7 separate regions of the Homo sapiens genome follow, and regions 1, 2, 3, 4, 5 and 6 are each linked to region 7. The links are contacts of gene promoters, found by promoter capture Hi-C in blood cells and fetal thymus (Javierre and others, 2016). All regions are on one chromosome and are shown on one strand. Each heading gives the region's core, a stretch centred on a gene start or on the middle of the fragment in contact. The rest is flanking DNA. Distances are from core to core; before and after follow the strand shown. Region 1 holds the start of SIGLEC9 (sialic acid binding Ig like lectin 9). Region 2 holds the start of SIGLEC7 (sialic acid binding Ig like lectin 7). Region 3 overlaps FPR3 (formyl peptide receptor 3). Region 4 holds the start of FPR1 (formyl peptide receptor 1). Region 5 has its middle 43 kb from the start of ZNF577. Region 6 has its middle 7.2 kb from the start of FPR3. Region 7 holds the start of SIGLEC8 (sialic acid binding Ig like lectin 8).

Region 1 (4,234 bases), core at 568-3,067, 330 kb before region 7:
CAGATGTGTGAGTGAAAAGCAGGAGGGCTTCTGGCCCCTGGTTCTCACCTGATCAGGGGGCCATCCTGGGCACTGGCTTCCCCCCAACCCCCATGGCCTCACCTGGAGCTACTACTCCAGGTGAGCAGGCCTGCTCTTTTCTAGGGAAGCCGAAGGATTGTTCCCCGAGTTCCAGGTGGGGCTGAGCTGTCCTGTCCCGCCTGAGTTAGAATTGAAGTGGCCGATGCTAATCTGAGGCCCGTGTTGGCTCTGCAGGTGTGGAGGGCCCCAGGGGAGCAGTGCTGAGAGGCCTGACTGAGCCCCTCCTGCTCAAGACAGAACTCAGATGTGGACACCCAGCCCTGCAGAACAGATGCAGGACAACACTGTCAGCCATGGCTCAGCCCTTCTGACCATTGCAGTTGAGATGCTGCAACTTCCCAGGGAGCGACTGGGCAAACATGGGGGCCTGAGGTATTCACGGCAACGTGCACAGATGATAAAACTACCTAGAAAAGCATGGAGACCATTAGCGTTAAAGTGAGGCTGGGGCTGCTTCAGGAGGAAGTGGGGTGTGGCTGACAGGAAGTGGGGTAACAAAGAGGAGGTGTTGCGGCATCCCCAGTGTTCTGTTTCTCTAAGCATGTTCATATGTGTAAACCGCTGAGATTTTTTCTTGGGGGGAAGACATTTTTATCTATATGGCTTATATTTCTCCCAAAAATATTTCTAGAAAACTGACATCGGTCTAAGGAGGCTCCACCACACAGGATACTCCCAGTTCCTCCCAGCCCAGCCACACAGTTACAAAAAATCTTCTGCTGAATTCAGGTGCATGTTTCTTCTCCCATGAAATCCTGCCCATCGCGGAGGGTGCATGCCCCGGGGCTGGTGTCCTCACTCCACATCTCCTGTTCACCGGGACCCCTGGGAGCAGAGCTTGCAGAAGCAAAGCCCCAGGGCCAGCTGATCCCTCATGTTCTGGAGTAACCAGGGAAGTGTGGCTGAGCGAGACATCGGTGGTGAAGAAACCCTTCGTGGTGCAGTGAGGAAAGGAGAAATATCTTCCCTTTTGAAATCTGCCCCTTTTCTTCCGAATTTCCTCCCTTCCAAGCCCCACAGTACAACAGTCACAGCCTCAGTTTCCCAGACCTCCTGCGAGCCAGGCTCCCCTCTGTGTCCTTGGCGTGTATCAACACATAGAATCCTCACCTCCACAGCCCCATGTCCCTCTGCTCAGTCCTCCTGAGATTGAACCCCTGACCTACGGGAGAGTGACCCCATCCTGCCTGTGCCCCCCAACTGAAGCTCCTGCCGTGGACAGCTCAGACGTCAGGAGCCTCCATGTCTCCCCTCCGCACAGTGACCCCTTGGGGACAGTGTCCAGCTCTGCTGTGTTGACCTCGTTGTGCAGAAAGGGGGTGCCCACCTCGTGCTTGCTTGGGGGGGATGAGAGGCTGCCTGCTCACCCCACCTGCACCCCCATCTCTCATGGCCCCAAGTCCCACCTCTGAGCTACGCAGATATCCACAGCCTCTGACTCAGGGGTCTGGCCAGATGGGACTCATTTTCACCCTGCAGAAAATGTCACCTAAGGGGAAGGGCATTGAGAGGGAGGCAGGAGGTGGGGTGGGCCCTGCATGGGGTGGGAATCTGGGTGAGTCTGTCTCCCGCTCTGGCCTCAGGGACCCAGGAGTGAACATGGGGTGGTGGACGGTGGATCTCCCAGGGCTGACCCGGGCCTGACAGTGTCTGGGTGTAAAGTTCCTCCTCTGAGGAGGTCACTGTTCCGACCTCGCCCCTGTCTTCCTGTAGGGCCTCCTCTAAGTCTTGAGCCCGCAGTTCCTGAGAGAAGAACCCTGAGGAACAGACGTTCCCTCGCGGCCCTGGCACCTCTAACCCCAGACATGCTGCTGCTGCTGCTGCCCCTGCTCTGGGGGAGGGAGAGGGCGGAAGGACAGACAAGTAAACTGCTGACGATGCAGAGTTCCGTGACGGTGCAGGAAGGCCTGTGTGTCCATGTGCCCTGCTCCTTCTCCTACCCCTCGCATGGCTGGATTTACCCTGGCCCAGTAGTTCATGGCTACTGGTTCCGGGAAGGGGCCAATACAGACCAGGATGCTCCAGTGGCCACAAACAACCCAGCTCGGGCAGTGTGGGAGGAGACTCGGGACCGATTCCACCTCCTTGGGGACCCACATACCAAGAATTGCACCCTGAGCATCAGAGATGCCAGAAGAAGTGATGCGGGGAGATACTTCTTTCGTATGGAGAAAGGAAGTATAAAATGGAATTATAAACATCACCGGCTCTCTGTGAATGTGACAGGTAAGGCACAGGCTCCAGGAAAGGCCACAGGGAAAGGTCATGGGGGCGGCAGGGAAAGGCTGGGATGGAGCCCCTGCCCCAGGAGAGGGCTTAGGGTGAAGCGAGTTGGCTCAGGGCAGGAGCTGGACCAGAGCCTGAGCTCCCCCCAGGGCTGCACCATGGATCCTCTGACCTGATCCTGAGTCCCCCTCTCTTCACCAGCCTTGACCCACAGGCCCAACATCCTCATCCCAGGCACCCTGGAGTCCGGCTGCCCCCAGAATCTGACCTGCTCTGTGCCCTGGGCCTGTGAGCAGGGGACACCCCCTATGATCTCCTGGATAGGGACCTCCGTGTCCCCCCTGGACCCCTCCACCACCCGCTCCTCGGTGCTCACCCTCATCCCACAGCCCCAGGACCATGGCACCAGCCTCACCTGTCAGGTGACCTTCCCTGGGGCCAGCGTGACCACGAACAAGACCGTCCATCTCAACGTGTCCTGTGAGTGCTGGGCCGGGACGCCTGGGTCCCTGATGGGGTGAGCGTCAAGCCTGGACACTGGGTGCTGGGTCCCGGAATCTGGGCTGGTGGTGGGGTCAGGAGGACACTGGCTCTGCCTTCCCTGTTTATGCGGCTCCTGGGGACAGACAGGGCCAGTGTCCCCAGCCCTCACAGTGATGCGGGTCTCCATGTCTTTCTGTCCCAGACCCGCCTCAGAACTTGACCATGACTGTCTTCCAAGGAGACGGCACAGGTAGGATGGAGCTCCCTCCCTGGGGCTGGAGGAGCAGGGCCTTCAGGTCAGGATGGGGCTGGCTTATTCCTCAACCTGGACTCACTTTGGCAAACAGGGATGTCCTTGTGGGTGAACTCAGGGCCCCTCTGTATCCTTAGGCCCCAAGGCCACTTGTTCCCATCCTCCCATCACCTCCCTTGGACTCCCCCACACACCCCCCCCTCAGCCTCAAACAAGAAGAGGGTGGCATTCACACAGCAGGACCAGGCTTTGAGGCTCCTTCTCATGTATCTCCTGAATACATCTCCACCCTTATCTGTTTATTTCTGATAGTTCTGATCTAAGTACTTCTGGACAGGTGATAAATGTCCATGGGCAAAAATTCAAATTGCAGAGCAAAGGCTCTCCTCCGATGCCTGCCCCCCTCCCCAGAACCAACCACTGTCCATCCAGGCTGCCCTGAGTCTCGGTTTGTACACCTGGAGGATCTCAGAGGTGGTTTGACGTCCGTAGTGAGACTGTCCGCACCCTCCTCTAGGGCTGTGTGTGAGTCCACTGCATGGATGGACTCTGATTTTGTGGCATCTCCTAATGGAAGATCACGGCACTAATTTCATCCTACGGCAGGATAGAACAATCTTGTATCTACTTCCACAGGAATATCTAAGCCTGTGGGTTAAGTTCCTAAAAGCAAAATGTAGCTACATTATATGTTCTTTCTTATTTTGAAAGATAAGCCCAAACTGTTCTCGATGAAGCGGGGAGAAGTTTACATTCCCAGCAGTGAGTGGTGAAAGTGTGTGTTTCCAGAACTTCAGTCTATGTCTGTGTGTCAGTTGCTGTCATCAGTCTCTTTCTGTATCCTTCCTTTTTCTCCAGATCTATGTATCTCTCTGACCCTCTGTCTCTTTTTCTACAGTATCCACAGTCTTGGGAAATGGCTCATCTCTGTCACTCCCAGAGGGCCAGTCTCTGCGCCTGGTCTGTGCAGTTGATGCAGTTGACAGCAATCCCCCTGCCAGGCTGAGCCTGAGCTGGAGAGGCCTGACCCTGTGCCCCTCACAGCCCTCAAACCCGGGGGTGCTGGAGCTGCCTTGGGTGCACCTGAGGGATGCAGCTGAATTCACCTGCAGAGCTCAGAACCCTCTCGGCTCTCAGCAGGTCTACCTGAACGTCTCCCTGCAGAGTGAGTGCACCAGTATGCTGGGGAGG
Region 2 (3,928 bases), core at 832-3,331, 320 kb before region 7:
TTCAACCCAAAAGGTTGAGGTTGCAGTGAGCCAAGATTGTGCCACTGCACTCAAGCTTGGGTGACTTCGTCCCCACCTCACCACCACCCCTTCCCCCCGAAAAAAGGCAGACACTGGATAGAGATTTGGCAGCCTTGGGAAGCGAAGAAAAACAAAAAAACAAACAAACAAACATAAAAAGACCCAAAGTAATGCTGATCTCACCTCATAGAGATCAGTTCGCTCTCCCTCTCCAAGAGTGTGATACTGTGCTTAATAAACTGCTGCTTCTTGCTTTGCTGTCTGTGTGTGTCTCATCCAATTCTTTGTTTAAGACACCAAGAGCCTGGAACTGCATGGCACCATCCGGTAACACTTCTGCCCACTGAGATACTGCAAATATCCTTATGGGGAGAGAGTGGCTGGGCAAGGAGGAGGCGCCCAGGAGGCAGATTGGTCTGCAGGATGAGATACTAGCTGCAAATGCAGGGATTGGAGGTGAGGGCGGGGAGTGGCTTCGGACGCCCAAACCCAGCATCTTCCTCTCTCAATCGTTACAGCCAAATGATCTCTAGGTTATGGACAATTAGGGGACAGTGTGGGCTGAGCAGATCAATGCAGTTGTATGGAAGAAAACAGACTGGGATTTTCTATGTATACAACATCTTCAGGAAAACCTACGTGAAGTTAGAATTTTCAAGGCAGCATGTGCCGATGATAAAACTACATAGAACAGCAGGAAGACTATTATCATTAAAGTGAGGCTAGGGGCTCCTTCAGGAGGGAGCGGGGGCATGGCCAATAGGAAAGGGGAATGTAAGGGTGAATGAATTAATAAAATCTCTTTCTTCATTTCAAGGGACAGACTTGACAGTTCTTTTGTGTTCTAGTTCTTCAAGGGTGCTTATTTTGTGTGAATCACTGAGTTGGTTTTTAGGGGACACTTTTATGTACATGTCTTGTGTTTCTCCCCGCTCAAAAAAAACTGTTTCAAGAAAAGCTGGCCTGGATCTAAGGGGGCTGCAGCTTGCAGGATTTTTCCCACTTCCTCCCAGCCCAGTCACACAGTTTAAAATAATCTTCTGTTGAAGTCAGGTGCGTGTTTCTTCTCTCAGAAAATCGCGCCCATCACTGAGGGTGGACGCCCCGGGGCTGGTGTCTTTGCTCCACGTCTCCTGTTCACCTGAACCCCTAGGAGCAGTTCCTGCAGGAGCAAAGCCCCAGGGCCAGCAGACCCCTCACACTCTGCACTAACCAGGCCTCATGAGATAGCAGTGGTGAAGGGAAATGTCCTTGTGCTCAGAGAGCTGTGAGGATGGGAATAGTGTCTGCTCTTTTCATATTGATCCTTTCCCTTATGACTTTCCTGTCTACCAAGCCCCACAATACAACAATCACAGCCTCAGCTTCCCCGGCCTCCTGCAGGCTGGGCTCCCCTCCGTGTCCTTGGCGTGTATCAACAGGCGCAATCCTCACCTTCACAGCCCCATGTCCGTCTGCTCGGTCCTCCTGAGACTGAACCCCCGACCTAGGGGAGAGTGACCCCACCCTGCCTGTGCCCCCCACTGAAGCTCCTGTCATGGGGAGCTCAAACGTCAGGAGACTCAGTGTCTCCCCACCACACAGTGACTCCTTGGGGACAGTGTCCGGCTCTGCTGTGTTGACCTCATTGTGCAGAAAGGGGGTGCCCACCTCGTGGCTGCTGAGGGAGGGATGAGAGGCTGCCTGTTCACCCCACCTGCACCCCTGTCTCTCATGGCCCCGAGTCCCACTTCTGAGCTACGCAGACATCCACAGCCTGTGACTCAGGGGTCTGGGCAGATGGGAGTTATTTTCACCCTGCAGAAAATATCACCTAAAGGGAAAGGCATTGAGAGGGAGGCAGGAGGTGGGGTGGGCCCTGCATGGGGTGGGAATCTGGGTGAGTCTGTCTCCCGCTCTGGCCTCAGGGACCCAGGAGTGAATGTCGGGTGGTGGACGGTGGATCTCCCAGGGCTGACCCAGCCCTGACAGTGTCTGTGTGTGAAGTTCTTCTTCTAAGGAGGTCACTGTTTTGACCTCACCACCGACTTCCTGTAGGGCCTCTTCTAAGTCTTGAGCCCGCAGTTCCTGAGAGAAGAACCCTGAGGAACAGACGTTCCCTCGCGGCCCTGGCACCTCCAACCCCAGATATGCTGCTGCTGCTGCTGCTGCCCCTGCTCTGGGGGAGGGAGAGGGTGGAAGGACAGAAGAGTAACCGGAAGGATTACTCGCTGACGATGCAGAGTTCCGTGACCGTGCAAGAGGGCATGTGTGTCCATGTGCGCTGCTCCTTCTCCTACCCAGTGGACAGCCAGACTGACTCTGACCCAGTTCATGGCTACTGGTTCCGGGCAGGGAATGATATAAGCTGGAAGGCTCCAGTGGCCACAAACAACCCAGCTTGGGCAGTGCAGGAGGAAACTCGGGACCGATTCCACCTCCTTGGGGACCCACAGACCAAAAATTGCACCCTGAGCATCAGAGATGCCAGAATGAGTGATGCGGGGAGATACTTCTTTCGTATGGAGAAAGGAAATATAAAATGGAATTATAAATATGACCAGCTCTCTGTGAACGTGACAGGTAAGGCACGGGCTCCAAGAGAGGCCAAAGGCAAATGTGATGAGGGCTTTAGGGCACGGCTGAGACGGGACACATGTCCTGGGAGGGGGCCGGGGGTGATGGACTCAGGAGAGGAGCTGGACCAGAGCCTGAGCTTCCCCAGGACCGCACCTTGGATGCCCCTCCTGATCCTGCAGGCCCCTCCCCTCACCAGCCCTGACCCACAGGCCTGACATCCTCATCCTGCCTCTGACGCTGGCATTGTGGCATGTGGGGCCTTATGACTCCTTGTTTTGGGGCCTGTCCTAGGCATGGCCGGGGTTTAGCACCATCCCAGGCCTCTCCCCACCAGATGCCAGAAGCACCCACTCCACCCATGCAGTGAGACAATAACAATTATCTCCACACATTGTTAAACGTCCTGGGGGGTTAAGTCCTCCCCAGTTGAGAGCCTTAGGTCTACACAACCCCGTGACTCTCTCAGGCCAGGCCAGGGAGGAAGCACTTCCTGGCGCAAACCAAGGGCAGCAGAGGCACCTGAGCCTGGACAGGGAGACTCAGCACACGGCCCCTCCATCTCTCATGCCCTGAGGTCCTCGGAGATCCACATTTAGATGCTCAAAAGACAGGAGGGACCTCCACGATGGTCCAGAGGCCGGGAGGGCAGGACCTACGTGTCTGGTGCAGGCCCTGGTGCTCCAGGGAAGCCCGGAGGTAGGAGGTGGGACACGGTCTCTTCTCCTCCCTGGGTGGGTCTCTAGGGTCTCTGAGCTTCAGGGTTTCCTTCACTCTGTGCAGAGGGAACCAGTTCCTATAGCATGTGGGTTTGTAGTTTCTCTTTCGTGCTGGGTTGAGGTCTCCAGCTCCTCTCCAGCCCCTCTCCAGCCCCCTGTGGGTCCCACAGCCCTGCCCCTCCTCTCCCTCCCACTTCTCTGCTCACACAAGGAGCCCAGGAACCCTCTGTCTCAGAGATGCTGCTGCCTCTCTTGTGGGCAAATGAAGAGAGGGACAGTCGGGGCTGGGCTGAGCCTCATTTCCCCACAGCGTCCCAGGCCCCACTGTCAAGATACAGGCTGGAGGTGCTGGAGTTGGTGATGGTGCAGGAGGGCTAGTGCGTCTCTGTGCCCTGCAGTGTCCTTTAACCCTATTACAACTGAACTGACTCTAGCCCTGTCCATGGATGCTGGTTTAAGAAAGGGATCAATATACAATGGAATAATCCAGTGGCCACAAACATCCCAAATGGAAAAGTGCAGGAGACACGGGGCCGATTCCACCTCCTTGGGGACCTGAAGACCAACAACTGCTCCCTGAGCATCAGAGATGCCAGGAAGGGGGATTTGAGGAACTACTACTTCCAGGTGGA
Region 3 (3,692 bases), core at 814-3,313, 360 kb after region 7:
ACAACATTGTCTTGTTGGCCTGTCCCCACCTGTCACTGCACATTGTTGGAATGTGTCAACATTTCCAAATGACTTAGAGATTATTGATACATCATACTGTCTGAATGTCTTCTAGGATATTTGGAGAGTGGTAGAGAAAATCTGAGTCTGTTGAGGAACTAGGGAATGGGAGAGGGTTAACCATACAATTCTGTTGAAATCAGTCTGATTGAGCTCCAACTCTGGTTCTACCCCTTTCTGACTGGGGGCTTTAAATAATTAATGTAACCAATATAAGTCAACTTCCTCATGTGTACAATGGTTATACTAATTAAAACTAAGGTTAGTCAATATTCACCGTGTCTCAAGGTGTGCTCAGTGCTCACACAGATTAACACGTCTCATCTGCAGAGGCTGTGAGAGCAGTTGTTAGGGTTAAAGGAGAAGCTCTTGGCATGTGAGTAATGTTCATAAGTAGTAGCCACTATTGCTATGAGCATTGTTCTTGTCCTGACCTTGAGCTTCAAAAGGCACGACCCAGGATTGAGCCCCATGACACAGCACACAGCCTGGTGAGGACCAGAAGTTCCCATTTGTCACAGACACTCAGTCTAGCCTAGAAGATTTCCATGTCCAGTCTCACTTAATCCTCACCTGAAAGTTAGACTTCACCACAAAACTGTCCTTGTTCTGCAGAGGAGAAAACTGAGGCTCAAAGAGATATCACTGACCAAGAACCCATATTGGCAAGGTGCCAACGATAAGAGTAGCGATCTAACTGACCCCAAAGCCCAGTGTTCTTTACTCTGTAACAGTGATGCTCAACTGGGGGGAGTTTTGCCTCCCACGGGACCTTTGACAATGTCTATAGACACTTTCAGTTGTCACTCCTGAAGGGGGAGTTGCTACTAGCATCGGTGGATAGAGGCCAGGGGTGTTGCTAAATATCCTACTGTGCACAGAACAGTCCCCCACAACAAAGAATTACACAGCCCCAATTGTCTGTAGTGCCAACGTTGAGAAACCTTGAGCTACATTAAACAATGTCCCATGAAAGACCTCAGTGAAAGTGACTGGTAATGACAGGAAGAAAAGAAGGAAGAGAGAAAGGGAAAGGAGGAAAAAACCATGATACTAGGGTATGACCACATGCTGGAAATATCTGGGGAACTCCTTTCAAATGCAGCATTTTAGAGTTGCAACGGTAGTGGCTCTAAAGTTGCTCATCCTGAATTTCAAATCTTGCTGCCTCCACTGACCGGCTGGACATGATGCTGAAAAAAAAAAACCTACAAAAACCCCAAGGCCATGAATTCCCTCTGGTACAAAAAGGGGTAATGATGGCTGCCCACAATGTTATTATGAGTATTATTTGTGAACAAGTGCTGTATAATTGCTGTTACTTTTAGAGAGGCTGGATATCCCAAGGTAGGAAGAGTCTCTAATTTTCCTGGCCATAAAAATCACTGTAGCTTTTACACAGAGAGATTCTAGAGTTGGGTTCATGAATATGCATTTTAACAAATACCTTGGATGTTTCTGATACAGCCCACAGACCACAGTATAAGCAAATTTGGTCAAGTGGCAAAGACACAAGGGACACAGAGACCTTTGGGTTGAGTTGGATGCAACAGCTTCCCATGTGACCTGGTGCAGAGGCAGGGACTGTAATTTTGTGATTCTGTTTCTTAAAAGCAAGGAAATAGATCCCAGAAAGATGCCAGGATATCCTCCCATAGTGTTATTGCCCAGAATTTAGTCATGTTTCCACCAATAAAGCAATCCCTTGCAAAGCAAAAGGAATTCTAGTTAGAACAAATTAGAAAATCAAGATATGCCCGCAAAGATGGAGGAGGGATACCTTCCCCCAAAAGAGTGAGTAACTGAACAAAATTGCGATTTGATTTGCAGAGAAGAAATGAGGAACAGTTATTTGTGGGGGGAGGGGGCATCACCAGCAATATCTGTCAGAATTGTTGCATAGAGAAAGGGCTTAGAAGTCAGACTAAGCTAGATTAAAGATCTTTGTCTACTGTTTCCTACTTAAGTGACCAGCAGATTTCACAATTGCTCTCAACATTGAGTCATTCCTGTGGAAACTACAAACAATGAATATTACAGAGCTACTATGCAGACCAAACTACAACCCATATGTAGCAATTAACACAGTGAATAGTCTCTGATAAGAACCCTACAAATACTAGCTAAATATTCATGCTCATTCTGTTTATCCCACAGACCTTGAAGATATACAACGGATGCTAAGTAGGGACAATGAAAAGCAGACGGGAGAAAGTAAATATAGGGCCCTCTTTGTTGACTTCATCTAGCACAGAATCTATAGGATGTAATATATTTCTGCTCTTTTTTTTTGTGGGGGGAAATGGAATCTACTCTGACATCCAGACTGAAGTGCAGTGGCACGATCTTGGCTCACTGCAACCTCTGCCTCCCAGGTTCAAGCAATTCTCCTGCCTCAGCCTCCTAAGTAGCTGGAGTTACAGGCTCTTGCCACCACACCTGGCTAATTTTTGCATTTTTAGTAGAGATGGAGTTTCACCATGTTGGCCAGGCCAGTCTCCAACTCCTGATCTCAAGTGATCCACTCTCCTCAACCTCCTAAAGTGCTGGGGTTACAGGCATGAGTCACCACGCCCGGCCTATAGCATGTAATATATGTCTATATATTACAAGTAATGGTTCAAAATCCTCTTCAGCTAACTCAATCCAAACCCTAAAACTTCAAATTAAATATCAACTAAAAAATAGGTCAAGGGTCCTCACAGTGGGAGGGACAGGAGCTGGGAGACTGGGAGAGCATGGGGCCGAAAGAAGTTGCAGAGCTTGCCAGCATGTTTGCATTGAGTGATGGAGGCCACAGATGTGAACCTTCTGACTCTGAGTCTTGTGCCTTCCTCACGAAGCTGAAGCTGCCTATGCTCAATTTTCCATTGTCCATACACTCTCAGTTCAGTATTTCCGCTGGTGGACAGAGCCCTTTAATCCTCTTGGTAATCAGCTTGATAGGTGGCATGCATATTAATAATGATGGGAATATAGAGAACTATCGTTTCCCAAAGGAACTCCGAGAGAGTGCCAATTTTATGTTATAACCATTCACAAGGCTCACTGGGGAGGGTCTGCTGGTAGGAGGAGGAGCTACAGTGGAAGTTAATGAATAGTTGTATTGTAAGATGGTGTCACAGCTGAGAAATGGCCATTGCTGAAATGTTTCAGGTGTGGGAAGATGGAAACCAACTTCTCCATTCCTCTGAATGAAACTGAGGAGGTGCTCCCTGAGCCTGCTGGCCACACCGTTCTGTGGATCTTCTCATTGCTAGTCCACGGAGTCACCTTTGTCTTCGGGGTCCTGGGCAATGGGCTTGTGATCTGGGTGGCTGGATTCCGGATGACACGCACAGTCAACACCATCTGTTACCTGAACCTGGCCCTAGCTGACTTCTCTTTCAGTGCCATCCTACCATTCCGAATGGTCTCAGTCGCCATGAGAGAAAAATGGCCTTTTGGCTCATTCCTATGTAAGTTAGTTCATGTTATGATAGACATCAACCTGTTTGTCAGTGTCTACCTGATCACCATCATTGCTCTGGACCGCTGTATTTGTGTCCTGCATCCAGCCTGGGCCCAGAACCATCGCACCATGAGTCTGGCCAAGAGGGTGATGACGGGACTCTGGATTTTCACCATAGTCC
Region 4 (3,748 bases), core at 1-2,500, 290 kb after region 7:
GGGTCTCCTGGGGAGAGTGACTCAGGCTCTAATGATTGCAGCAAAACATACACCAAGGAACAGGAGGAGGGGTAAAGGAACTAAAACCAGCTGGGTAGCAGGAAATAGGAAGTCTGAGCTTCTTCTGATTTTTGATGGCCCCAAGAATACACCAATATACTGTCTGCTTTAATGGCATTAGGACAGTGGGCTGGGCCTGTTTAGAAACTCATGTACCTGACTGTATTTCTCAGCCTCAGTCTCTGTGGGATGCAGAGGTTCAGTGCTCTCAACAACAAGGGCCAAGAAATCCAAGTGTCCGGGCCCCTGCTCCCTCCAAGGGTCAAGGTAAAGAAAGCAGCAAGCACTGTGGTGAGAAGAATCAGAGGGAGGCAATGAAAGGAAGAGAAGAAGTCATGAGGGATGGAGACCAGAAACACAGAGAGAGGTAAGGGAGTGGGGGAAGTTGAGACAGTTGGCAGGACAGCGCGTCCACACCCATGCACACCACCAAGATTAACCCCATAATCCTCTGATCTTGTGGAAGCTCATTTGTAGTCTTCTAGCCCAAAGAAATAACCGTTTTTCTGAAATGTTAAGCATCCTTCCAAGGGTATCAGAGTGATATGGAGAAATATGGTAAGACAGTTACAGAATCAGAGATAACGACACTGATTCTAAAAGCATTATTACCAAGGCATTGTTGCATTAAGACTGTTTTTTCTTTTCTTTTAGAGACAGTATCCTGCTACGTTGCCCAGGCATGTCTCAGACCCCTGGGTTTAGTGATCCTCCTGCCTCAGCCTCCCCAAATGCTGGGATTACAGGCATGAGCCGGGCTGTTTTTAATTCTAAGTAATTTATAATTTACAATTACACCTAACAATGGCTTCAACAAGGGGTGTCCAATCTTTTGCCTTCCCTGGGCCACACTGGAAGAAGAAGAATTGTCTTGGGCCACACATAAAATACACTAACACTAACGATACCTGATGAGCTAAAAAAAAAAAAAAAAAAAAAAATCCCCCAAAAATCTGATAATGTTTTAAGAAAGTTTATGAATTTGTGTTGGGCTGCATTCAAAGCCATCTTAGGCCATGGGCTGGACAAGCTTAGCTTAGAACCAAGACGAAATTTATGGTTTACTTTACAAGAATTTTGCAAGAGGGTAATACTAGGTTAGGTTATATCTGGAAAATATCATCAAGAACTACATTCATTTTAATCTTTTCTCTTTTTTATCCCTAATATGGTGACTTTTTTTCCTGGGGATTGCCACTTCATGGCTCCAAGAAAGCTACCACAGCTCCTGACTTCACATTACAGCAGGGGTCCCCAACCTCCAGGCCATAGACCAATACACAGACCGATACCGGTCTGTGGCCTGTTAGGAAGTGGGCTGCACAGCAGGTGACTGGCAGGTGAGCAAGAGAAGCTTCATCTGTATTTATAGCCACTCCCCATTGCTGGCATTACTGCCTGAGCTCTGCCTCCTGTCAGATTAGTGGCGGCATTAGATTCTCATAACAGTGTGAACCCTACTGTGAACTGTGCATGCCAGGGATCTGGGTTGTGTGCTCCTTATGAGAATCTAATGCCTGATGATCTGTCACTGTCTCCCATCACTCCCAGATGGGACTGTCTAGTTGCGGGAAAGCAAGCTCAGGGCTCCCACGGATTCTACATCATTGTGAGTTGTATAATTATTTCATTGTGTATTACAATGTAATAATAATAATAGAAATAAAGTCTACAATAAATGCAATGTGCTTAAATCATCCTGAAACCATCTACCCCGCCACCCCATGGAGAAATTGTTTTTTATGAAACTGGTCCCTGGTGCCAAAAATGTTGGGGACTGCTACACTCCAGCATCCCACACCAGGAGGATGGGGATGAGATGGAGAATCACTGAAGATCTTTAATCAGAAGGGTGATATGTTCATTTGTACTTTATAAACATTTGTGTTTGTATTTTATAAACATTTTCTTGGGATCATAACAACAGATGCATTTTAGAAGATTCCCAAGGTATGAAGGGTAACAAATGAAGACGTGCCTAGGAGTCACATGGAAGCCAACACTTTGTAAGGGGATTAAAATAAAGGGAATGGCAGAGGACATCATTATGCACAGAGGAGAAGGGCCCAAATGTCAAGAGAAAACAAGAGACAAGGGACTCCACAGAGAGTAATTGCCAGAAAAATTTGTAGGTCTTTTGAAGTCTGACTGTTCTTCCTAAAACGGGGGTCCTGGGACACCCCTACCTGTTTCCCATGAGCCCTCTTTTCTAAAACATAAGTAGGTTTTCTTCCTGGCTACCAAATGGCCTGTGATTAGCACACTAGGTTGGGCAAAAATAGAGCCAAGTGTGTGTTCCAAAGTGACTATGGTGAAGAAAAAAGCGAAAGTCTTAAAATGGACTTCCACTTCTGTGTTTGCGTAAGGCTAAAAGGGAAGATGTCTTAGGGTTGACCGGAATGGGAGTATTCCTGCCTATGCTGCAAAAGTCCCTGACTCTTCTGGTAACTGAAACATGAGAAATGGCCTCGGCGAGCAGCACAGCCTCCCAGTAAAGCACTGGACTGAGGTGGTAAAGCCAGATTGCCTGGACTAGAATCCCAGGACTACTGTTCACTAGCTCCGGACAAGCCAGCTAATCCAGGGGTCTCAAACATTTCCCCCAACTTTTTTTTTTTGAGACAGAGTCTCACTGTGTCACCCAGGCTGGAGTACGGTGGTGTGATCTTGGCTCACTGCAGTTTTGCCTCCTAGGTTCAAGTGATTCCCCTGCCTCAGCCTCTCCAGTAGCTGGGATTACAGGTGCCCGCCACCACGCCTGGCTAATTTTTGTATTTTTTAAGTAGAGATATGGTTTTGCCACGTTGACCAGGCTGGTCTTGAACTCCTGACCTCAAACAATCACTTGCCTTGGCCTCCCAAAGTGCTGGGATTACAGGACGGAACCACTGCACTGGGCCACAAACATTTCCTATGAAGAGCCAGATGGTCAATATATTTCATTTGGCAGGCCATAGGGTCTCCATCACAACTCCTTGGCTCTGCTGTTGTAGCCTGAAAACAGCCACAAGCAAAGTTGTAAATGAGGAGCATGACTGTATGTCAATAAAACTTTATTTAAAACACGACAATTGGACTTCATATAAGTTTTGCATGGCACAAAATACCCTTCATTTGATTTTCTTTAGCCGGTAAGAAATATTAAAGCCATTCTTGGCTCTCAGGCCATACAAAAACAAGCGGTGGCTAGATTTGACCCCTGATTTAACTGCACTGGGTCCCAGACACTTCACCTGTGAATTGAGAGCAATGATACTTACAGAGGTGTTTTCTGGAGCAGAACAAATAAGATCAGTGATACAAAGCACTTGGCATGAATTCCAGTGCAATAAGTATTATCAATATCTTAGTAATTACATAAACCTCTCTATCTGCTGTTTCACGTTCTCTGCGGTGAACCCATCCATGCTTAAAACTTGAACCACACCTCAGCTAACATTCACCAGACCCCTGTCTCTAGCTCAGACCTGCCCTTGATGTTCAGACACATCATTTTGGGTTCCTGTTTCCTTTCAAACTCATCTGCAGCCTTTGCTCTCCTCACCTTCTCCCACAACTCTGTTAAGGACTAAATTGTGTCACATTCCCCTTCAAATTCTTAGGTTGAAGCCCTCACCCCATGATATGGTTTGGCTGTGTCCCAACCCTGATCTCATCTTGAATTGTAGCTCCCATAATTCCCACGTGT
Region 5 (3,942 bases), core at 157-2,656, 390 kb after region 7:
TTTGGTTTGCACTTTGTGAGTGGAATACATTAAAAACTATCTTTTCTTTGTGCATTCTTCATTCACTTGTTTACTCTTTCATTCATTTGCCCGATGTAAAGTGTCTTTTAAACCTTTAAACTACCTAAAAACCATCTGTAACCCACCTTAGGAGCATTTAATGTAATTCATTATACATATTACAATAAAAACAATAAAGGTTAGTCCTTCCTTCAAGTGTTTCTGATCTTGCACAGAGTAGCAAATACAGTCCTATGCAGAAAGCCTATGTATTGCATGGTATTATGGATTAGCAAGGACTAAGACAGAAGTATGCTCAAGCTAATATGTGAGCACAATTAGGTAAGGCCATAATTGTTCTGAAGAGGTAGACAAGCTGGTAGCATGATTAGTAGTGCGTTCTAAAGGAAGAAGTGGAAGAAATGGGGGCTTCCTTGGAAGGGGGCAACATATGTATCTGTATTAAATACCATTCTGCGTTCAAAGAAATGCAAATAGTTCATTAAGACAGGAGAAGCTGAAGAGAAGAAATGCCCATTTGAAAAGCAGGAACATGTCTTGGAGCAAAGGGTACACATTTCCTTAAGATACTCGATAGCCACTACACTTTTTTTTTTTTTTTTTTTTTTACATAAGTAAGTTACGGTCAGAATTGCATTTTGGAAATTGTGCTACAAATTAAATGATGATACTCATAAAGAAAAACAGACTTCTTACTATGTGCTATGTATCATTCTACAAATTTTACATATATTAACATAATAATCTGCACAATAACCCTTGTTTAAGCACTATTATGTTCTTTTTATAAAGAAGAGATTTTAAGTTTCCTAGCTGTGCCTTTTATATCTCCCACATTTCCTTAAAGATTACTGTTCACTGGGTCCATATGCTGGCACACAAAAACTGAAGAGGAAGAGGAAGATCCATCAGAGACATTTCTTCACACTGGATGCCCAGGAAATATTTACTGATATCAACGATTTTATGTGCTTTCTCCTTCTGGACAAAGTAAATCTTGTAACTTTTAAAAATTCTCTTGTGATGGTTGTCAGTACTGCCACAAAAATGTTTGCAACTTAATTCTAGATCCTGCTACTTATATGGCAATTGTCTAATTATTAGCACCTTTCAGGACCCTACGACATGGAGATAGATCTCCCTTCCTAACTGGCTACTCTTGATCATTTATTCTGTCTCCTAGTCTAACCACATCCCTGCCAGCCAGAGTGTACTTATATTCATTTTTCTCTTTGATTACATATATGGTTATAAACTTCTAAAAATCTACTGGGAAGTAAATAAACACCTCACTTGGAACTTTGTCATGTTCAAGAGCTTTCAGAAGATGGCCAGTACTTTTAGTATCTGTTTGTCCTGCAATTCTGATAATGTCTCATCAAGGGTATCCTCAACAAAGATGAATTTCTGGACATGAGATATACTTTTTTCCTTTACAGGAGCTGCCTCATTCTAAGAAGTCAGCATCTATGAATTCAAACAAAAATGTGTTTTAAAGTAGAAATAATAAAGAGCAAGTCCGCGTAAATAAAAAGACTTTTCTTTTTAAAATTAATTCATTTCCTATACCTAACAAATAAAATTGTATGTATTTATCAGTACAATACGTTGTTTTGAAATAAGTATATACTGTGGAATGGCTAAATCAAACTAATTAACATATGTATTACTTCACATACTTGCCATATTTTTGTGGTGTGAACACTTGAAATCTATTCTCTTAAGCAATTTTCAAGAGTACAATACTTGGCCGGGCACGGTGGCTCACACCTGTAATCCCAGCACTTTGGGAGGCAGAGGCAGGCGGATCACCTGAGGTCGGAGTTTGAGACCAGCCTGATCAACATGGAGAAACCCGGTCACTACTAAAAATACCAAATTATCCGTGGTGGTGTATGCCTGTAATCCCAGCTACCCGGGAGGCTGAGGCAGGAGAATCGCTTGAACCCGGGAGGTGGAGGTTATGGTCAGCGAAGATTGCACCATTGCACTCCAACCTGGGCAACAAGAGCAAAACTCTGCCTCAAAAAAAAAAAGAAAAGAAATAATACAATACCTTGTTATTTACTACAGTCACCATGTTGTACAATAGATCTCTTAAACATAAAAGTTCATGTCTTATCTAACTGAAATTTTTTATTCTTTCACCAACATTTCCACAACCCTCTCCCTCCCCCAGCCTTGGTAACCACCATTCTACTCTCCATTTCTATGAATTCAATAATTTTAGATTTCACACATAAGTGAGATCATGCAATATTTGTCTTTCTCTGTGAGGCTTATTTCACTTAACATAATGTATTCCAAGTTCATCTATGTTGTCACCAAGTGACAGGATTTCCTTCTTTTTTGTGGCTCAAGAGTATTCCATTGTGTATATATGCCACGTTTTCTTCATTCATTGTTGTTGGACACCTAGGTTGATTACCTCTCTTGGCTATTGTGAATAACACTGCAATGAACATGGGAGTGCAGCTATATCTGCAAAGTGCTGATTTCATTTCCTTTCGATATGTGCCCAGTAGTAGGATTGCTGCATTATATGGTGGTTCTATTTTTTTTTTTTTGAGACAGAGTCTTGCTCTGTTGTCCAGGCTGGAGTGCAGTGGCACTGTCATGGCTGACTGCAGCCCCAACCTCCCAAGCTCAAGCAATCCTCCCACCTCAGCCTCCTGAGTAGTTGGGACTACATGTGTGTCCAGCTAATTAGTCCACCATGCCCAGCTAATTTTTTATTTCTAAAAACAAATAAATTTTTATTTGAGACCAGCCTGTATAACACAGTGAGTTCTTGTCTCTATAAGAAATAAAAGGTATACATTTGCATAATAATAGCTACCTTTTGTCAAGTATCTATTAATACGTATTTGCAGATGAGTCACTGGAAGGTAACTAGGGTTAGATGAGGTCATGAGGGTGGGCCTTCAATATGGAATTAGTGACCTTAAAAGAAGAGATATTGGCTGGGTGCCATGGCTAATACCTGTAATGCCAACTCTTTGGGAGGCCGAGGCCGGTGGATCACTTGAGGCCAGGAGTTTGAGACCAGCCTGGCCAATATAGCAAAACCGTGTCTCTACTAAAAATACAGAAAATTAGCCAGGTGTGGTGCAAACGCCTGTAATCACTGCTACTTGGGAGGCTAAGGAATGAGAATCACTTGAACCCGGGAGGCAGAGGTTGCAGTGAGCCGAGATCGCGCCACTGCACTCCAGCCTGGGCCACAGAGCGAGACTCCATCTCAAAAAAAAAACAAGAAGAGAATTTGCATTCTCCCCCTACTGCCATATGAAAACAGATGGCCATCTGCAAACCAGAAAAAGATCTCTCACCAAAACTCATCCCACACTGGCACTGTGATCACGGACTTCCAGCTTCCAGAACTATAAGAAAACAAGTTTCTCTTGTTTAAGCCACTCAGTCTATGGTATTTTGTTATGGCAGCCCAAGCTGACTAATACATTACATGCCAGCACTTTGTCAGGGACTTCAAATGCACTACCTCACTCAATCCTCAAAACCCATCTGCAAGGTAGATATTTTCAATTTGTCATAATGGAAAAACTGAGACTTACAGAAGTTGGGTATCTTGCCCAAAGTCACACAAAATAGGGTAGAATTGACATAAAAAGCTAGTACTAATTTCAAGTGTATACAAACACTCGTGTACGCACACACATGCACACACATAGCATTTATGACACGATTTTGACAACTCATGAATTTTGGTTGTACAGGTTATCATATTGCTATTCTTTCGAGTTTTCTATATACTTGAAATTCTTCGACATAAGATATTGGGAAATATAATACCTCAATGTAAAATACAGCACCCAAATGTCTGTACAGCTGAGGCCTCCTTATGTTCCAGCCCCACCAGCCTCTCCCGTCGATGTCCGTGTTGCTCTCCACCCAAGCATC
Region 6 (4,205 bases), core at 120-2,619, 330 kb after region 7:
GGTGTCGTGTCTATGAACTCCCTGCTTAGCCTTAAGTCTTCACTATTTCTTCTATGTTTTCTTCTAAAAAGTTAGTAGTTTTGCATTTAATATTTAAATCTGTAATCCATTTTGGATTAGTTTTTATAAAGGAGGTAAAACTTAGATTGAGGGTTTTTTGTTTGTTTTTATTTATTTATTTTTTTTCGAGACGGAGTTTCGCTCCTGTCGCCCAGGCTGGAGTGCTGTGGCACAACCTCGGCTCACTGCAAGCTCCGCCCTGCCGGGTTCACGCCATTCTCCTGCTTCAGCCTCCCGAGTAGCTGGGACTACAGGCGCCCACCACCACGCCCGGCTAATTTTTTGTATTTTTAGTAGAGACAGGTTTCACCGTGTTAGCCAGGATGGTCTCGATCTCCTGACCTCGTGATCCACCCGCCTCGGCCTCCTAAAGTGCTGGGACTACAGGTGTGAGCCACCGCGCCCTGCCTAGAATCTCTTACATGTTCTCACTCCTAAGTGGGAGTTGAACAATGAGAACACATGGACACAGGGATGGGGAATATCACACACTGGGGTCTGTCGGGGGCTGGGGGGCTAGGGGAGGGATAGCATTAGGAGAAATACCTAATGCAGATGACAGGTTGATGGGTGCAGCAAACCACCATGGCACATGTATACCTATGAAACAAACCTGCACATTCTGCACGTGTACCCCAGAACTTAAAGTAAAAAAGAAAAGAAAAGAAATTATTCTTCAACTTCACATTCTTCTACTCACTCCAAAGAGTCTATTGTACTCCAAAGCGTCTATTAAGTATGCCCTTAACAAGCTCCCCATCCCCAGAGATATGTTCTTCATCTGGATTTTATATTCCACCAGCTGGGTCCTTGCTCTGGGAAGTTCTAGGTCCTGATCTCCTGGAGAGAGTCACTGTCATGTAATTTTCACAGCAGAAGTTAGCCCAAGGGACAGGAGGAGGAGTAAGAGAACTGAAACCAGTTGGGGAACAGGAAACAGAAAGCAGAGCTCCTTCTGATTTTTAATGGCCCTAAGAACACACCAATATACTACTTGTTTTAATAGCAGTGGATTGTTGTGGGCCCATTTAGGAACTAAAGTACCTGACTGTGTTTCTCAACCTCAGTCTTTGTGGGATGCAGAGATTCAACCCTCTCAACCTAAAGGGCCAAGGAATCTGGGTGTCCAGGACCCTTCTCTCTCCAAGGGTCAAGGTAAAGAGAGGAGCAAGTACTGTAATGATGTCAGAGGCACTGGAACCAGAGCAACTCCATGTTGAATAGTAGCTGGGTAAAATTAGGCTGAGACCTACTGGGCTGCATTCCCAGACAGTGAAGGCATTCTAAGTCACAGGATGAGATAGGAGTTCAGCACAAAAAAACAGGTCATAAAGACCTTGCTGATAAAACAGGTTGCAGTAAAGAAGCCGGCCAAAAGCCACCAAAATCAAGATGGCCACGAGAGTGACCTCTGGTCGTCCTCACTGCTACACCCCCACCAGTGCCATGACAGGTTACAGATGCCATGGCAACGTCAGGAAGTTACCCTATATGGTCTAAAAAGGGGAGGAATGAATAATCCACCCCTTGTTTAGCGTATCATCAAGAAATAACCATAAAAATGGCCAACTAGCAGCCCTCAGGGCTACTTTGTCTATGGAATAGCCATGCTTTATTCCTTTACTTTCTTAATAAACTTGTTTTCACTTTATTCTATGGAGTCACGCTGAATTCTTCCTTGTGCGAGATCAAGAACCCTCCCTTGGGGTCTGGATCAGGACCCCTTCCAGTAACAGAAGAATTAGAGGGAAGCAATGAAAGGCAGAATGAAGACGAGAAGGATGGAGACCAAAACCACTGAGAGATTGAAGGGAGGCAGAGAAGTTGACAGGACAGAGCATCCACACCCAGGCACCCCAAGATTAACCCCATAATTTTTGGCTCCAGTGGAAGCTCATTTGTAGGTTTCTAGTGCAAAGAGGTGGTGGGCTTTCTGAAATATTAGGTTCTATCCAAGGGTATCAGAGTGGTATGGAGATAAATGGGAAGCAGAGACAGAAATAAGGTAGTCCACCTAAAAGCATTATTCCCAAGGCTTTGTGTCATTAAGGCTGTTTACAATTTTAAGTAGTTTATAATTTAAAATTACACCTAACAATGGCTTAAACCAAAGACAACATTTATGGTTTATTTGCTTTCCAAGAATTTTGCAAGTGAGTAGTACTAAATTACTTTCTGTCCAAATTATATCATTTAATAAGTTTATTTTGATCTTTTCACTTTTTCATCACTATTTTGGTGTGTTTTTTTTTTCCTGGAAATTGCCACCTCACGGCCCCAAGATAGCTGCCATAGCTCCTGGTCTCACAATACAGCATCTCATGCCAGGAAGATAGGGATGAAATGAAAAAATACTGAAAATTTTAGATCTGAGGCGAGATATGTTCAGATTTATTTTATAAAAATTTATCTTTGGGTCCTAATAACAAGAAGCATTTTAGAAGATTCCCAAGGAAGGAAGGGTAAGAAGTATAGATGTGTCTAAGAGGCACAAGGAAACCAAAATACTGTGTGTGTGTGATGGTTGGGAGGGGGGAATTAAAATAAGGGAAATGGCAGAGGACACCATTATGCATAAAGGAGAAGGACCCAGATGTCAAGAGAAAAAAAGAGGCAAAGGACCCCACAGAGACTAATTGCCAAACACATTTGCAAGTCTTTTGAAGTCCAATTATTCTTCCTAAAACTGGGTTCCTGGATGCCTCTGCATGTTTCCCATAAACTCTCGTTATTAAAACATAAGCAGTTGGGTATGGTGGCTCACACCTGTAATCCCAGCACTTTGGGAGGTCGAGGTGGACGGATCACCAGGCTGGTCAGGAGTTCGAGACCAGCCTGGCCAACACGGCGAGACCCCATCTGTGCTAAAAATACAGAAATAAGCCGAGCATGGTGGCGCATGCCTATAATCCCAGCTACTCAGGAGGCTGAGGCAGGAGAATCACTTGAACCTGGGAAGTGGAGGTTGCGGTGAGCTGAGATCATGCCACTGTATTCCAACCTGGTTGACAGATCAAGACTCCATCTAAAAAAAAAAAAAAAAAAAACAAAAAACCAAAACATAAGTAGGTTTTCTTTCTTGCTACGAAATGGCCCATGATTAACAAAAATGCCTAGAGGCAAGTAAACAGAATAAGAGTCTTAAAATGAACTTTCACTCCAATGGGGCAAAAATCATCTAAGGATCGTCTCAGTCAGACATGGGTGAGACTCAAAGTATGATTCATCCTGAGGCAAATTCCTCTTCAGCTGTAAGCCTGTTAAATCAGACAATTACGTGCTTTCGAAAATATAGTGGTGGGACAATCTAGGATTGACATTCCCATATCAAAAAGGAGAAATAGGAAGGAAGAAAGGGGAACCAGATCCTGAGGAAGTCCAAAACAATGTGGCAAATACATTTTAAGGCCTCAGTATAATGTTCTTTGACTCCATGTTCTGCTTTTTGGACACATTGGAGCTGGGGTTGGGCCACAACAGCTCTGGGCAGAACCACCATCATGGCTTTGCTGGGTGTAGCTGATGCAGCAGCTCTCAGGGGCTGAAGTCAGGTGCTGTAGCTCCCCAAGGGTGGTATTGCACACAGGTGGCTACACTGTTCTGAGGTCTCAGGGGCAGCCTCACCCCCAGGGTTCCACTGGACATTGCCCTAGTGGAGGCACTCTGTGGTGGCCCCATCCCCGCTGCTGTACTGGGCATTCTCTTAATGCCATCATATTGGGGGAGGGACTCTCTGTGGAGAGACAGAGAGTCTCTGGAGACAGCCCTCTCCCTGAGTTGCATGCCTGCGACTCCAGGTAGCACCTTCCTTCAAAATCTAAGGGGAGGCAGCCACAACCCCGCAGCTCATGCACTCTGTGCCCTGGTGGAGATGACACCACACAGATGTAGCCTTGGCTTACAGCCTGTGCCATCCAGAGAAGTGGCCTGAGCCGCAGTCTGGCGTGCTTGAGCCAAAGCTTGGAAGGCCAAGGAGTGCTATACTGGAATATGGGGAATACAATCTTGAAATTGTTTGCCGCCAAAACCTTGAAATTGTTTGCATTCTGTGCCTGTGATGGGCAGGGAAGATGTGAAGATCTGTGAGATGCCTTCAGAGTCATTCTTCCATTGTCTTGATGAATACTATCTGGCTTCTATCCATG
Region 7 (4,011 bases), core at 78-2,577:
CCCATCCTGAGCTGAAGGCCCTGCTCCCCCAACCCCAGGGAGGGGGCTCTGTCCTACCTGTGGCATCTCCTTGGAAGACAGTCATGGTCAAGTTCCAAGGAGGGTCTGGGACAGAAAGACATGAAGACCCACATTACTATAAGGACTGGGGACATTGGCCCTGTCTTCCCAGGAGCTGCAAATACAGGGAAAATGGAGTCGGCATTCTCCTGACCCCACTCCCAGCCCAGATTCTGGGACCCAGAACCCAGTGTCCAGGCTTGAACCCCATCCCCTGCCCTCAGGAACACCTCCCAACCCATGAGGGACCTGGGCATCTTGGTCCAGCACTCACAGGACACATCGAGGCGGACGGTACTGGTCGTGGTCACACCTGTCCCAGGCAAGGTCACCTGACAGGTGAGGCTGGTGCCGTGGTCCTGGGGCTTTGGGGTAAGGGTGAGCACTGAGGAGCGGGCAGTAGTGGGGCCCGGGGAGGACACGGAGGCCCCAATCCAGGAGATCATGGGGGGTGTCCCCTGCTTACAGGCCCAGGGCACAGAGCAGGTCAGGTTCCTGGAGTGGCCAGACTCTAGGGTCCCTAGGATGAGGATGTCAGGCCTATGGGTCAGGGCTGGTGAAGATGGGGACACAGGATCAGGAGGAGGTATTTCAGGTGCAGCCCTGGAGGAAGCTCAAGCTCTGGTCCAGCTCCTCCCCGGAGACCGACTTATTTCAATCCCAACCCCCTCCCAGGCCCCATCCCAGCCCTGCCTTTCAGCCCCTCATGACCTTCCCCTGTGGCCTGTGCTGGAGCCCGTGCCTTACCTGTCACAAACACAGACAGCTGCTTAGTTTTGTAATTCAACTGTGATTTGTAACTCCATTTCATGCTTCCTCTCTCTAGCCGAAAGAAATATGACCCCTTATCCCTCTTCCTGGCGTCTCTGATGCTCAGGGAGCAGTCGTTGCTCCAAATGTCCCCAAGGAGTTGGAATCGGCCCTGGGTCTCTGCCTGCACTTCTCTGTCTGGGTTGTTTGTGGCCACTGGAGCGTCTTGGTATGGTCTGTCTCCTGCCCGGAACCAGTAGCCATGAACTGGGTCAGAGTCAGTCCAGCCATCCTGGGGGTAGGAGAAGGAGCAGGGCACATGGACACACAGGCCCTCCTGCACCGTCACCAGCTCCTGCACTTGCAGCAAGTAACCATCCCCATATTGTCTGTCTCCCTCCATCCCCTTTGTCCCCCAGAGCAGGGGCAGCAGCAGCAGCAGCAGCAGCATGTCTGGGTTTGAAGGCGCCAGGGCCGCCAGGGAACGTCTGTTCCTCAGGGTTCTTCTCTCAGAAACTGAGGTCTCAAGACTTAGGGGAGGTCCCGCAGGAGGTTGGGGGTGAAGTCAGAAAAGTGACCTCCTCAGAGGAGGAACTTCACACACAGACACTGTCAGGGCCGGGTCAGTCCTGGGAGATCCACTGTCCACCACCCCATTTCCACTCCTGGGAACCCTGAGGCCAGAGAGGGTGAGAAACTCATCCAGATTCCCACCCTATGCAGGGCCCAACCTCTTTCTTGCTTCCCGGACTTGCCCTTCCATTTGGGTAACATTTTCTGCAAGGTGAAATTGGGTCCCATCTGGCCAGACCCCTGAATCACCCCCGGGGCTGTCACTGTTTGTGGAGGTCATACCAGCCAAAGGTGGAACTCAGGGCCATGAGAGACTGGGGTGCAGGTGAGGTGAGCAGGCAGCCTCTCCTCCCTCTCTCAGCAGCAACGAAGTGGGCACCTCCTCTTTACACAACGAGGTCAACAGAGCAGAGCCAGACACTGTCCTCAAGGAGTCACTGTGCAGAGGGGAGACACGGAGGCTCCTGACGTCTGAGCTCCCCAGGACGGGAGCTTCAGTGGGGGGCACAGGCAAGGTGGGGTCGTTCTCCCCTAGGTCAGGGGTTCAGTCTCAGGAGGCCTGAGCAGAGGGACACGGGGCTGTGGAGGTGAGGATTCTGCATGTTGATACACACGAAGGACGGGGGGCGGGGGGAAGCCTGGCTCGCAGGAGGCCTGGGAAACTGAGGCTGTAACTGTTGTACTGTGGGGTTTGGAAGGGAGAAATGTCAGAAGGGAAAGGGTCAATTTGAAAAGGGCACACACTTCTCCCTTTGTTGCAGCTATCTGGGTATCAGAATGGGTTTCTTCACCACCCGTATCTTACTCAGCCACACTTCCCCTGGTTACTGCACAGCAGGCGGGGTCTGTCAGCCCTGGGGCTTTGCTCCTGCAGGCTCTGCTTCCAGGGGTCCAGGTGAACAGGTGTCATGGAACGAGGACACCAGCCCTGGGGTGTGCACCTTCAGCGATGGGCAGGATTTCTTGAGAGAAGAAATGTGCACCTGAATTCAACAGATGATGATGATGATGATGATGATGATGATGATTATTATTATTATTATTATTATTATTATTTGAGACGGAGTCTCTCTCTGTCGCCAGGCTGGAGTGCAGTGGCGCGATCCCGGCTCACTGCAACCTCTGACTCCCTGGTTCAAGCGATTCTCCTGCCTCAGCCTCCCAAGTAGCTAGGATTACAGGCATACGCCACCACATCCAGCTAATTTTTGTATTTTTAGTAGAGCCGGGGTTTCACCATGTCGACCAGGATGGTCTGGATCTCCTGACCTCATGATCCACCCACCTCAGCCTCCCAAAGTGCTGGGATTACAGGTGTGAGCCACCGTGCCTGGCCTCAACAGATTATTTTAAACTGTGTGGCTGGGGGCTGGGAAGAAGTTAAGGGGGATCCTGGGAGGCGGAGCCTCCTTAGACTCAGGTCAATTTTCTTGAAACATTTTTTGGGGGGTAAATATAAGAAATATAGATAAAAACAACCCCCAAAGAAGACCTCAGTGATTTACATACAACGAGCCCCCTCCTAGAAATGGCACATTGACAAAGTCCCCAGCGCTGCTCATTTGTTTCTCCTTCTTATTGGCCACACCCCACTCCCTCCCAAACGATCCCCTAGCCTCACTTTGGTGCAAATTGCCTCAATGCTTTTCTATATAGTTTTATTATCTGAGCAGGCTGCATTTACTAAGCTTTTGCACGTTTTTCTGAAGACTTTGTATACACAGAAAATCAAACTCTACTTTCTTCCACTCAGCTTCATGGATCTGCCCGTCTCCTATCTTCCCCTCATTACTTATAACCTGGAGTAGATCATTCGGCTGTGATAATTGAGAAGGGAAGGTGCAGGGCTTGGGTGTGCATAGCCGACTCCCACCCCCATCACCAATGCTTGCATTTGTAGCTGGTATCTCATTCTGCAGCCATTTCCCCCTCCTGGGCCTCCTATCCTTGCCCAGTAGAGACAGCTGCAGTATCTCAATAGTCAGAAGGGCCGAGCCATGGCACAGGTCTTTTCCATGGTCCCCAAGTGGTAATTGAAGCCTTCAGTGAAGACTCCTGTGCAGGCCTTGCTCTCCAGCAACTTAGCCAGGCTGGAACTACAATTCCCAGAATCCCCTTCCCTGTTTGCTTCCTGGACAAAGTTCACCACAAGGGAAGGGGGAAGTTGGAGCAGCAGCCCTGAGGGGTCCGTGTAGGGGCAGGAGCTGTTGCAGCTCTCACATATTGACGCTGACCACTGGCCCATCTCATAGGGAGACACGATAGCCGCTCACTTGTTCACCTGCTGGACGGCAAGGAGGGCGTGTGGGACACCACGGGCTATGCCTTAGGGAGCAGAGAATCATTGAATCCTGACATGGGGATTGGTGACCCACATGGACACAGGTGGCCCAGAGAGACACATACAGTGACAGGCAAGGGATCCATAAAATGGCATCCCAAATAGTTCTCTCATCCTAAGACGATGTCCCAGGGTCTCTTTGACCTGACAACTAGCGCCATTCACCTTTTCAGGGGAGACCCAGCTTCCCAGGGCAAAGGGAAGGACACAGCGCATCTCAGTACCCAGAATGCCCAATGCTTGGGTGTGTGTGTGTGTGTGTGTGTGTGTGTGTGTGTGTGTGTGAT

The links. Contacts are between HindIII fragments. The CHiCAGO score rates a contact against its expected background, and 5 or more counts as called.
Region 1: a contact is called between the fragment with the promoter of SIGLEC9 here and the fragment with the promoter of SIGLEC8 in region 7, in 3 of 17 cell types (neutrophils, fetal thymus and erythroblasts). The highest score is 13.5, in neutrophils.
Region 2: the fragment with the promoter of SIGLEC7 here is called in contact with the fragment with the promoter of SIGLEC8 in region 7 in 12 of 17 cell types (neutrophils, monocytes, non-activated CD4 T cells and 9 more); the score reaches 16.6 in neutrophils.
Region 3: a contact is called between a fragment that was not itself captured here and the fragment with the promoter of SIGLEC8 in region 7, in 3 of 17 cell types (M2 macrophages, monocytes and neutrophils). The highest score is 9.7, in M2 macrophages.
Region 4: a fragment that was not itself captured here is called in contact with the fragment with the promoter of SIGLEC8 in region 7 in 2 of 17 cell types (monocytes and total B cells); the score reaches 6.5 in monocytes.
Region 5: a fragment that was not itself captured here is called in contact with the fragment with the promoter of SIGLEC8 in region 7 in 1 of 17 cell types (monocytes); the score reaches 5.9 in monocytes.
Region 6: a fragment that was not itself captured here is called in contact with the fragment with the promoter of SIGLEC8 in region 7 in 2 of 17 cell types (neutrophils and monocytes); the score reaches 11.4 in neutrophils.

What each region holds. Positions count from the first base shown.
Region 1 is chr19:51,123,089-51,127,322 of GRCh38, forward strand. It overlaps SIGLEC9 (sialic acid binding Ig like lectin 9), which reads left to right and starts at 1,818. Exons shown (of 7, transcript NM_014441.3): 1 at 1,818-2,307; 2 at 2,509-2,787; 3 at 2,993-3,040; 4 at 3,942-4,208. The coding sequence starts at 1,887. The HindIII fragment of the contact is 17,590 bases long and covers 1-4,234 here.
Region 2 is chr19:51,140,220-51,144,147 of GRCh38, forward strand. It overlaps SIGLEC7 (sialic acid binding Ig like lectin 7), which reads left to right and starts at 2,082. Exons shown (of 7, transcript NM_014385.4): 1 at 2,082-2,583. The coding sequence starts at 2,151. It overlaps LOC124904749 (a long non-coding RNA gene), which reads right to left and starts at 291. Exons shown (of 3, transcript XR_007067310.1): 1 at 205-291. The HindIII fragment of the contact is 9,764 bases long and covers 54-3,928 here.
Region 3 is chr19:51,820,523-51,824,214 of GRCh38, forward strand. It overlaps FPR3 (formyl peptide receptor 3), which reads left to right. Exons shown (of 2, transcript NM_002030.5): 2 at 3,217-3,692. The coding sequence starts at 3,227. It also overlaps a transcript of ZNF577 not described here. Among named protein-coding and RNA genes, the nearest start is that of FPR3, 27 kb to the left of the region's middle. The HindIII fragment of the contact is 5,603 bases long and covers 1-3,692 here.
Region 4 is chr19:51,751,861-51,755,608 of GRCh38, forward strand. It overlaps FPR1 (formyl peptide receptor 1), which reads right to left and starts at 18. Exons shown (of 2, transcript NM_002029.4): 1 at 1-18. The HindIII fragment of the contact is 324 bases long and covers 1,089-1,412 here.
Region 5 is chr19:51,843,444-51,847,385 of GRCh38, forward strand. It overlaps a transcript of ZNF577 not described here. Among named protein-coding and RNA genes, the nearest start is that of ZNF577, 43 kb to the right of the region's middle. RefSeq lists an enhancer at 3,879-3,942. The HindIII fragment of the contact is 5,979 bases long and covers 1-3,942 here.
Region 6 is chr19:51,785,876-51,790,080 of GRCh38, forward strand. No RefSeq gene overlaps it. Among named protein-coding and RNA genes, the nearest start is that of FPR3, 7.2 kb to the right of the region's middle. The HindIII fragment of the contact is 5,296 bases long and covers 1-4,017 here.
Region 7 is chr19:51,457,127-51,461,137 of GRCh38, forward strand. It overlaps SIGLEC8 (sialic acid binding Ig like lectin 8), which reads right to left and starts at 1,328. Exons shown (of 7, transcript NM_014442.3): 1 at 808-1,328; 2 at 335-613; 3 at 58-105. The coding sequence starts at 1,261. The HindIII fragment of the contact is 20,005 bases long and covers 1-3,069 here.